Regions from separate parts of the Homo sapiens genome. Here regions 1 and 2 are each linked to region 3. The links are contacts of gene promoters, found by promoter capture Hi-C in blood cells and fetal thymus (Javierre and others, 2016). All regions are on one chromosome and are shown on one strand. Each heading gives the region's core, a stretch centred on a gene start or on the middle of the fragment in contact. The rest is flanking DNA. Distances are from core to core; before and after follow the strand shown. Region 1 holds the start of LOC124904771 (a long non-coding RNA gene). Region 2 overlaps SSC5D (scavenger receptor cysteine rich family member with 5 domains). Region 3 holds the start of COX6B2 (cytochrome c oxidase subunit 6B2).

What was found. Contacts are between HindIII fragments. The CHiCAGO score rates a contact against its expected background, and 5 or more counts as called.
Region 1: a fragment that was not itself captured here is called in contact with the fragment with the promoter of COX6B2 in region 3 in 5 of 17 cell types (total CD8 T cells, erythroblasts, naive B cells and 2 more); the score reaches 8.1 in total CD8 T cells.
Region 2: a contact is called between a fragment that was not itself captured here and the fragment with the promoter of COX6B2 in region 3, in 1 of 17 cell types (fetal thymus). The highest score is 6.2, in fetal thymus.

What each region holds. Positions count from the first base shown.
Region 1 is chr19:55,213,737-55,216,552 of GRCh38, forward strand. It overlaps LOC124904771 (a long non-coding RNA gene), which reads left to right and starts at 1,853. Exons shown (of 2, transcript XR_007067346.1): 1 at 1,853-2,816. The HindIII fragment of the contact is 1,890 bases long and covers 365-2,254 here.
Region 2 is chr19:55,514,844-55,517,921 of GRCh38, forward strand. SSC5D (scavenger receptor cysteine rich family member with 5 domains) reads left to right here. Exons shown (of 14, transcript NM_001144950.2): 14 at 2,381-3,078. Among named protein-coding and RNA genes, the nearest start is that of SBK2, 21 kb to the right of the region's middle. RefSeq lists an enhancer at 2,063-2,564 and silencers at 2,084-2,243, 2,374-2,553. The HindIII fragment of the contact is 6,972 bases long and covers 1-3,078 here.
Region 3 is chr19:55,353,423-55,356,407 of GRCh38, forward strand. It overlaps COX6B2 (cytochrome c oxidase subunit 6B2), which reads right to left and starts at 1,297. Exons shown (of 5, transcript NM_144613.5): 1 at 1,228-1,297; 2 at 988-1,117; 3 at 444-544; 4 at 185-352. The coding sequence starts at 1,099. The coding sequence ends at 299. GARIN5B (golgi associated RAB2 interactor family member 5B) reads right to left here. Exons shown (of 11, transcript NM_001145402.2): 10 at 1,838-1,923; 11 at 1,486-1,673. The coding sequence ends at 1,878. RefSeq lists silencers at 612-721, 832-881. The HindIII fragment of the contact is 2,438 bases long and covers 1-1,500 here.

The sequences.
Region 1 (2,816 bases), core at 60-2,559, 140 kb before region 3:
CTCAGGGAGGACTCACCGATACTAGTCAAAGTACATACTGTAAACCTTCCTCCCAGTTTCTCCTAAAGGCCAATATCCATGGTCGCTGGGGATTAGAGAAAGAGAAAAGGCTACTGGACTCTGACTCTGAATCAATCCTAATTTGGAGGCACACACAGGTCACCGTGAATCATGGTCTGACTGGTGTGCTTGGGGCTGTCAGGTAACGAACGGAGGGTTCACCTAAAGACCATCACACAGTGGGTCAACGGGACTCTAAAGACCCTGTGTGGCTCCTTCCTCAGGCCTTGAGAGTGAAGTTGAAATCGACATTCTCATAAAATGGCAGACACAATGCTTTGGCTTCCCTGATCTGTAGTGTGAAAGCTTTGATGGTGGGAAGAAGAAATGGAAGCCCCTAGAAATTCCCCCATCTATATTGGGCCAGTCTTTCATTGCTATAAAGAAATACCTGAGACTGGGTAATTTATAAAGAAAAGAGTTTTAATTGGCTCGCGGCTCTGCAGGTTGTACAGGAAGCGTGGTGCTGGCATCTGCTCAGCTTCTGGGAAGGCCTCAGGGAGCTTTTCCACTCATGGCGGAAGGTGAAGAGGGAGCAGGCACATAACATGTCGAAAGCAGGAGCAAGAGAGAGAGGACGGGAGGTGCCACACACTTCTATTTTTTTATTTTATTATTATTAAATTTTTGAGATGGAGTTTCCCTCTGTCACCCAGGCTGGAGTGCAGTGACACCATTTTGGCTCACTGCAACCTTCACCTCCTGGGTTCAACTCCCAGCTAGTTTTTGTATTTTTAGTAGAGATAGGGTTTTGCCATGTTGTCCGGGCTGGTCTCAAACTCCTGACCTCAGGCGATCCAATGCACCTCGGCCTCCCAAAGTGCTGAGATTACAGGTGTGAGCCACCGCGCCCGGCCTTGCCACGTACTGTAAAATACCCAGATCTCTTGTGAGCTCACTCATCACCATGGGGATGGTACTAAACCATTCATGAGGGGTCCATCCCCAAGATCCTAACACCTCCCACCAAGTCCGGCCTCCAACACTGGGGATTCCATTTCAACATGAGATTTGGTGGGGACACAGATCCAAACCATAGTATCATCCTTCCCAAACAGTCAACCCAGGGAATCACAGAGATCAGCGCCAGCATCAAGCCTTGGAAAACACAGGGGTGGGATATGGGAGGGTGATTCCTAAACATTATCCTTTGATTCACATGATTAATCTATGCAGGAGCTTATGGATCTTGGAAGACAGAAGTAAGAAATGGTGATACTGGCCGGGCTCAGTGGCTCACGGCTGTGATCCCAGCACTTTGGGAGGCCAAGGAGGGCGGATCACGAGGTCAGGAGATCAAGACCACGGTGAAACCCCGTCTCTACTAAAAATACAAAAAATTAGCCGGGCGTGGTGGTGGGCACCTGTAGTCCCAGGTACTTGGGAGGCTGAGGCAGGAGAATGGCGTGAACCCGGGAGGCAGAGCTTGCAGTGAGCAGAGATGGCGCCATTGCACTCCAGCCTCGGAGACAGAGCGAGACTCCGTCTCAAAAAAAAAAAAAAAAAAATGGTGATACCCTCGGAAGTGGCTGGTCTTCTCAGGGTAAGGTCTCCTTCAGCAAATCAGCACAGCCCCTGGCACCTGATATTCAGCTAATGAACTGGAAAAGGCGTTTTGCCTATAGAAGTTAGCCTGAATGAAGAGTGTTCTTTACTCCAACAGTGACAGAAGGTCAGTGTGATTCCCTTTAGACTGTCTGGGACCTCGGTCATCTTATCAACCCATAAGACATCACGCTGTTCCCCCTCACTCCTGGATAGCAATTTATCCTCACTGGAATGGACACTTACAGGTGTTTATTAATTTCTCAGTGATTTGTTGAATGAATGAAGGAATGAATGAATGAATGATGTCTTTACCTTGAGATTGGAGTTCTTTCAGATTTGCTCTCTGCCCACCTCACCAGCCTCTTCTCCTATCTTTACTCCAGCTACACAGATGTCCGTGCATGTTTTTCTTAGCACTCCAGGTGGATTCAAACCTCAGGGCCTTTGCACACACTGTTCCCTCTGCCTGGTAAAATATTTCTCCACCAGCCAGGGCCTACTTCTCTTTCTACTTCTGGTTGACCCCAGATACAGTTGGCCACTCCCTCCTATGTTTGGAGCCAAACTAAACAAATCTCTTATTATAATACTCATCACATTGTCTGTGGCTTTGCCTATTTTTCCTTTCTTTTATCAGAGTGGAAGAAGCTTCTTTGGGTAGAGACAAGTCTATTCATCTTGGGGGACATCAGGCCAACTCCACACCGAAGGCTGATGAAACTTCAGGCAATATCCCTTCATCTGAATCTGATGACGTGTGTCACGTTTTCCAGGTCCACACTCAGGGATCTGGTCTGCGTTTTCATGTAAGCTTTCTCCACTCTCACTTTCCCTGGACTCTCATCCAGGATTAGATTTTTTTTTTTCTTTTAAATGGAATCTCATTCTGTCACCCAGGCTGGAGTGCAGTGGCACCGTCTCGGCTCACTGCAACCTCTGCCTCCTGGGTTCAAGCGATTCTCCTGCCTTGGCCACCACGCCTGGCTAATTTTTGTATTTTTAGTAGAGACGAGGTTTTGCCATGTTGACTACGCTGTTCTCGAACTCCTGACTTCATGTGATCCACCCGCGTCAGCCTCCCAAACTGCTGGGATTACAAGCATGAGCCACCACGCCTGCCGCGATTAGATCATTGATCTCATTGCAGGTGAACCAGTCCAGACCCCCATCCAGGTTTTCCAGCTTGCTCGCTCCTCACGCTGTGGCTG
Region 2 (3,078 bases), core at 422-2,921, 160 kb after region 3:
AGATACGCGGATCATCCACAGTCTATAGCTGAGGAAGAAACTGAGATTCAAGCAGTGAAGTAACTTGGCCGTGGTCACCCCGCTAGGAAGCCATGCAGCTGGGGTTTAAACTCGGACAGCCTGCCTTGAGCACAAGCCCTTTACTTAACCGCTTCTCCAATCCTGCAAACAAAGGACAAGGTGGGGAAGGGATGCGCCTGAAAGACCCTGCCCTGCAGGAACAAGTGGAAATCTGTAGATCTGTGTGGTTCAATACGGTAGCTAAGAGCACCGGGCATGGTGGCTCACGCCTGAAATTCCAGCACTTTGGGAGGCTGAGGCAGGCAGATCACCTGAGGTCGGGGGTTCAAGACTAGCCTGAACAACATAGTGAAACCCCATCTCTACTAAAAATACAAAAAAATTAGCTGGGCATGGTGGCACATGCCTGTCATCCCAGCTACTCAGGAAGTGGACACAGGAGAATCACTTGAACCCAGGAGGCGGAGATTGCAGCGAGCCAAGATCGCGCCACTGCACTCCAGCCTGGGCAACAGGAGTGAAACTCCGTCTCAAAAAAAAAAAAAAAAAAAAAGTTAAATGAATTAACACTTTGAAAATGAAACATTTGCCGGGCGCAGTGGCCACGCCTGTAATCCCAGCACTTTGGGAGGCCGAAGCGGGCGGATCACGAGGTCAGGAGATCGCGACCGTCCTGGCTAACACAGTGAAACCCCATCTCTACTAAAAATACAAAAAATTAGCAGGACATGGTGGCGAGCGCCTGTAGTCCCAGCTTCTCGGGAGGCTGAGGCAGGAGAATGGCATGAACCTGGGAGGCAAAGCTGGCAGTGAGGCGAGATCGTGCCACTGCACTCTAACCTGGGCGACAGAGTGAGACTCCGTCTCAAAAAAAAAAATAAAATAAAATAAAAGAAAATGAAACATTTAGTTTCTCATTCACACTGGCCGCATTTCAAGGGCTTGGTAGCCACATGTGGCCAGTGGCTACTGTATTGGCACGGTAGATCACAGCGCATTCCCATCACTGCAGATGTGAGATTTCATTGCCTAGACTCTATGTGCAAACAACTTGGGTTCAAGTCTTAGCCCTGCAACTTGCAAACTATGTCTGTGTGACCTTGGGCGAGTCACCTGCCCTCTTGCCCTAATTTCCCCCTTCTGTAAAATGGGGATAAAATTGGCACTCACTTGGAAGACAGCCCCAGAAGAGGGTCAGGCTCCTCCTGCTACTCAGGCCCAAAATTTAAGGGGGTGCCCAAAACGCCAAAATCAAGATACATAATATCATAATACAGTATTTTTTAAAATGAAAATTAATGCCAAAAAAAAAAAAACCCATGATGAACTCGGTATCAAAAATGTAACTGAAGGCCGGGCGCGATGGCTCATGCCTGTAATCCCAGCACTTTGGGAGGCCCAGGCGGGCGGATCACGAGGTCAGGAGATCGAGACCATCCTGGCCAACACGGTGAAACCCCGTCTCTACTAAAAATACAAAAAATTAGCCTGGTGTGGTGGCGGGCGCCTGTAGTCCCAGCTACTCGGGAGGCTGAGGCAGGAGAATGGTGTGAACCCGGGAGGCGGAGCTTGCAGTGAGCCGAGATCACGCCACTGCACTCCAGCCTGGGCGACAGAGCGAGACTCCATCTCAAAAAAAAAAAAAAAGTCACTGAAGACAGGATCCTATCCGCCTCGCTGGGCTCCCCCTAATCCTGGCCCTGTTGGATCCCGTCTTTGGTTAAAATGTTAACTTTGGTTAACTGTGGATCTTTTGGATTAATTTTGATTGTTTAAAAATATTGCATAAAAACGCTTGAGCCCAGGAGTTCGAGGTTACAGTGAGCTATGATCTTGCCACCGCACTCCAGCTTGGGCGACACAGCCAGACTTTATCTTAAAAAATAAAAAAATCCATAAAAGTATTTATTTTGATTACTAACATTACCCTTCGGAGCCCTCTTTGGTCTCCCTGCCTCCCCTGGCTCCGCACATCTCCCAGTCCCCCGCTGGCTCAGAATCCTCCCGTATGCTGCACGCTTCTGAGCACTCCCGCCCCCTCCCGCACCCCAGCACCCCACGCATCCCTCCCTCACCTCACCCTCCTGCACCCGCTCCCGCAACCCGCGTGCCCCTCGGCATCCCCGAGTCCGGAGCATCCCCGCATCCTCCCGCAGTGGAGGACGCCAGGTGGCGCCTGGAGCCATCGGAGGACGTAGGGAGGAGGGGCCCTAGGGCCGGGTGAAGTCTGCCGGTGACCCATGACGTCTCGAGGCTCTGTGCCTTTCCATTGGTCGGCTCCTCGAGGGGCGGGGCGGGACGCGTGGTGGGCGGAGCCGGTTGACCTCAGACCGTCCGTCTGTCTTTCCTCCTCCTCCAGGTTCCCCGAGGAAACCGTGGCCCGAGCGCCGGCCACCGCGGCCCGCTGCGACCAGGACAGCGCCCCCAACCCCGTCCCCAGGTCCCTCCGCCTCTCCGGGACCCCCAGGCCCAGCGCTGACCTCTGACTCCAGTCGAGAGCTCACTCCCCACTCAGCCTTGACGTCCGAGGCGACCTCTGACGCTCCGGACACTTCACCACCCACCCCAGACCCGGCCTCCCGGACGAACCCCGACCTCATCTTGACAAGCCCTGACTTTGCTTTGTCCACCCCTGACTCCAGTGTGGTTCCCGCGTTGACCCCGGAGCCCTCACCCACGCCCTTACCCACCTTGCCCAAAGAGCTGACCTCTGACCCTTCTACACCGTCGGAGGTGACCAGCCTTTCCCCTACCTCAGAGCAGGTCCCAGAATCTGACACAACCCCAGATTTGGACACAACTCCATACTCCAGTACAGTCTCAGAATATTCTAGATCCCCAGACCCCTCCCCAAGCCCTCACCCCACTACTACCCCTGATCCCACCATGGCCCCTGACCCCATCACAACCCTTAACCCTACTGTGACCCCTCACTTCCCTACCACCCCTCACCCCACCACGACCCCTCACCCCACCACCATCACTCACTCCACCATGATTCCTGACCCCACCACAACCCCTCAACCCTTCACCACCATCACTCACTCCACCATGATT
Region 3 (2,985 bases), core at 47-2,546:
AGGCATTCGGCTTCCTGTCTTAGGGCCTTGACTGCCTGCTGCTACCTGATGGAGCAGCAGTCCCCCACCTGCCCCTTATCGGAAAAAGCAGCGTTAGCCCGGACACAGGCACACGGAGGATCCCCACCACCACCACGACGCATCGCTGGCTGGGCATTAAGAAGAAACATCAGCAACAGCATACCATTATTCGTGGCTTAGACACTGGGAGGTAGGGGTGGATAACCGAGACCCGGGGCTCCGCGAGACAAAAAGATGCAGGATCACTGCATCTTCAGAGGAAGCCGCGCTGGGGCAGTCAGATTTTGCCGGCGAAAATCCCGTTCTTGATCTGCTCGTTCCAGCTCTCCACCTGGGAAGCAGAAAGGCAGGGAGCGGGACGCCGGCTCAGCCTCGGCCGAGCCCTGCACACGCCTGGCCCGGCGCCCCCTCTGCCGACTCACCCAGCTGATGGGGCACAGCGAGTGGTACACGCGGAAATAGTACTCGCAGGGCTGCGTGCTCTTCCCGCGGCGGGTCCTGGTCTTGAGGCAGCGGTGGTAGTCTGTGGCGGGCGGGGGTCACGCGGCAAGCCACGCCCATTCCAGGACAGGACCCGCCCCTCCACTGCTCGGGCCCTCCCAGTTCTTCGCTGCTTCGTCCCGCCTCCCTCTCCCCTGGAGGCCTCCGTCCCGCCCCTCCCAGCCAGGCCCCGACCCCTACCTCCCTCACACTGCTCCTCCTACCCAGACCCTGCCCCTACCTACCTCGCCCCGCACCTTCACGACTCGGCCCCGCACCTTCCAGATCAGGCCTCGCCCCTACCAACCTCGCCCCGCCCCTCCAGGCTCAGCCCCGCCTTTTCTCGACCAGGCCCCGCCCCCACCAACCCGGCCCCGCCCGGCCTCCCACCCTAACGGTCTCCGCGGGACTTAGGGTGGGAGTGCCCCTCCCTGCCGTCCCTTGTCACACCCTGCTCCTCCCATAACCTGGCTGAGCAGGTCTCACCCAGGAAGTTCTGGTAGCAGTTACGGATCTGGTTCTGGCTGGGGAAGCGCGGGTCGAAGGGCGGCGTCGACCATTTCCCCTTGGGGGGCTCCTGGGCTTCCACATCCAACATCCACGAAGGAGGCAACTCCTGCGAGACGGGACGGGACGGGGACTCCGTGGGGCCGAGGGGGCGCCCTCGCTCCGACCCGTCTCCCCATCCTGACCCCCGCCCCTGAACCCCACCCGTCGTGCCCTCACCAGCCTGACGTTGGCGGCCACTGGATCTGCTGTGGGATGGTCCCGGGGTGCCGCTCGCTTCTGAGTCCGCGGGGTGCGGTCCCACCCGGGTCAGGAGAAACGCACCCCGCGGCCGGATTGGCTAGGACGCCCGAGCCCCAGCCAATGGGAGCCGTCGTGCACCGCGGGGCTGGTAGGGGCGCCCCCACCCCACCCCTTGCTCCCCCGACGCCCCCTCGGGGGCCTGCGCGTGCACACAGGCACCGAGGTGCGACTCGCTGAGTCTCAGGCTCAAGCTTTAATCTCTGCGAAGTTGGGCGGCTCCACGGGCTCGCCCCCGCCCCCCCCCGCCCCCCAATATATAAAGGCATATCCATAGTTCTGGTATCTACCAGAGGGGGCAAATCCCCCCAAGCGGCTTTCAACATTCCGCTTCCTACAGTCGGTGCGCACAGAACCCTCGGGGCCTGTGGGGTTAAGAGGAAAGAGCAGCGGTGGGGTCCGGGCTCCTGGGAACCCCCCCGCCCCCCTCGTCCTCCCCCCTCCGTTACCCGCCCCCCCCACCCTCCTCCCTCGCCCCCCTCCCCCCGCCCCCAGGTCTAAGGCAGATCTCCAGGGTCTTAAAGGGTACCTGGCAGCGCTGGGCTCCTCTGGACAGTTTCCAACTGAGGTTAAGCCCCCGCATCCGGCCACTCGGAGTGCTGGGAGTGCTGCAGGCTGCAGGGAGAAAGCAAGCCAGAGAGAGCTTTGGGGGACAGGGTAGGGAGAGAGGGGTACCCAGGGCTTTAAGAGCTGCAGATGCCTGGCTTAGGAGAGCGTCCCCCAGGGCGGGTCTTGCTGTGTGTTTGGCTCACTGTTGTATCTGCCTGGGGCAGAGTCTGGCAGTAGTAAATGCACAATAAATCCGAGGCGGAATCAATGAGTCTTGGCTCTAGGGGCAGACAAGTAACTGGAATCTGGGCAGGTGGTTTCACCTCTAGATCCCTGCTAAGCTTCTCTCCCTCCTGCCTGGTTAATATCAGGCCTGACTCAGGATTGTTTACACTGACAGCCAAATGTACGAATTAAGAATCCCGGCCAGGTGCGGTGGCTCATGCCTGTAATCCTAGCATTTTGTGGGGCAGAGGCGGGAGGATTGCTTGAGTCCAGGAGTCTGAGACTAGCCTGGACAACATGGTGAAACCCCATCTCTACAAAAAATACCAAAATTAGCCAGGCGTGTTGGTGCGTGCCTGTGGTTCCAGCTACTGAGGAGGCTGAGGCAGGAGAATCACCTGAGCCTGGGTAGCTTGAGGCTGCAGTGAGCTGTGATGGCATCACTGCACTTCAGTCTGGGCAACATGTGAGACCTCTTTTCTACAAAAAAATCAAAAACTTGGCTGGGCTTTTGGAGGCTGAGGCAGGAGGATCACTTGAGCCCAGGAAGATAAAGGCTGCCATGAGCCACGATCACACCGCTGCACTCTAGCCTGGCAATAGAGCTCACCCCTGTAATCCCAGCACTTTGGGAAGCCGGATGGATCACCTGAGGTCAGGAGTTTGAGACTAGCCTGGCCAACATGGCGAAACCCCATCTCTAAAAAAAAAAAAGAAAAGAAAAGAAACAGGGTGTCACTCTATTGCCCAGGCTGCAGTGCAGTGGCACGATGGTGGGTCACTGCAGCCTCGACTTCCCAGTTCAACCAGTCCTCACATCTCAGCCTCCAGAGTAGCTGGGACCACAGGCACATGGCACCATGCCTAGTTAACTTTTTTTTTTTTTGAGACGGAGTCTCGCTC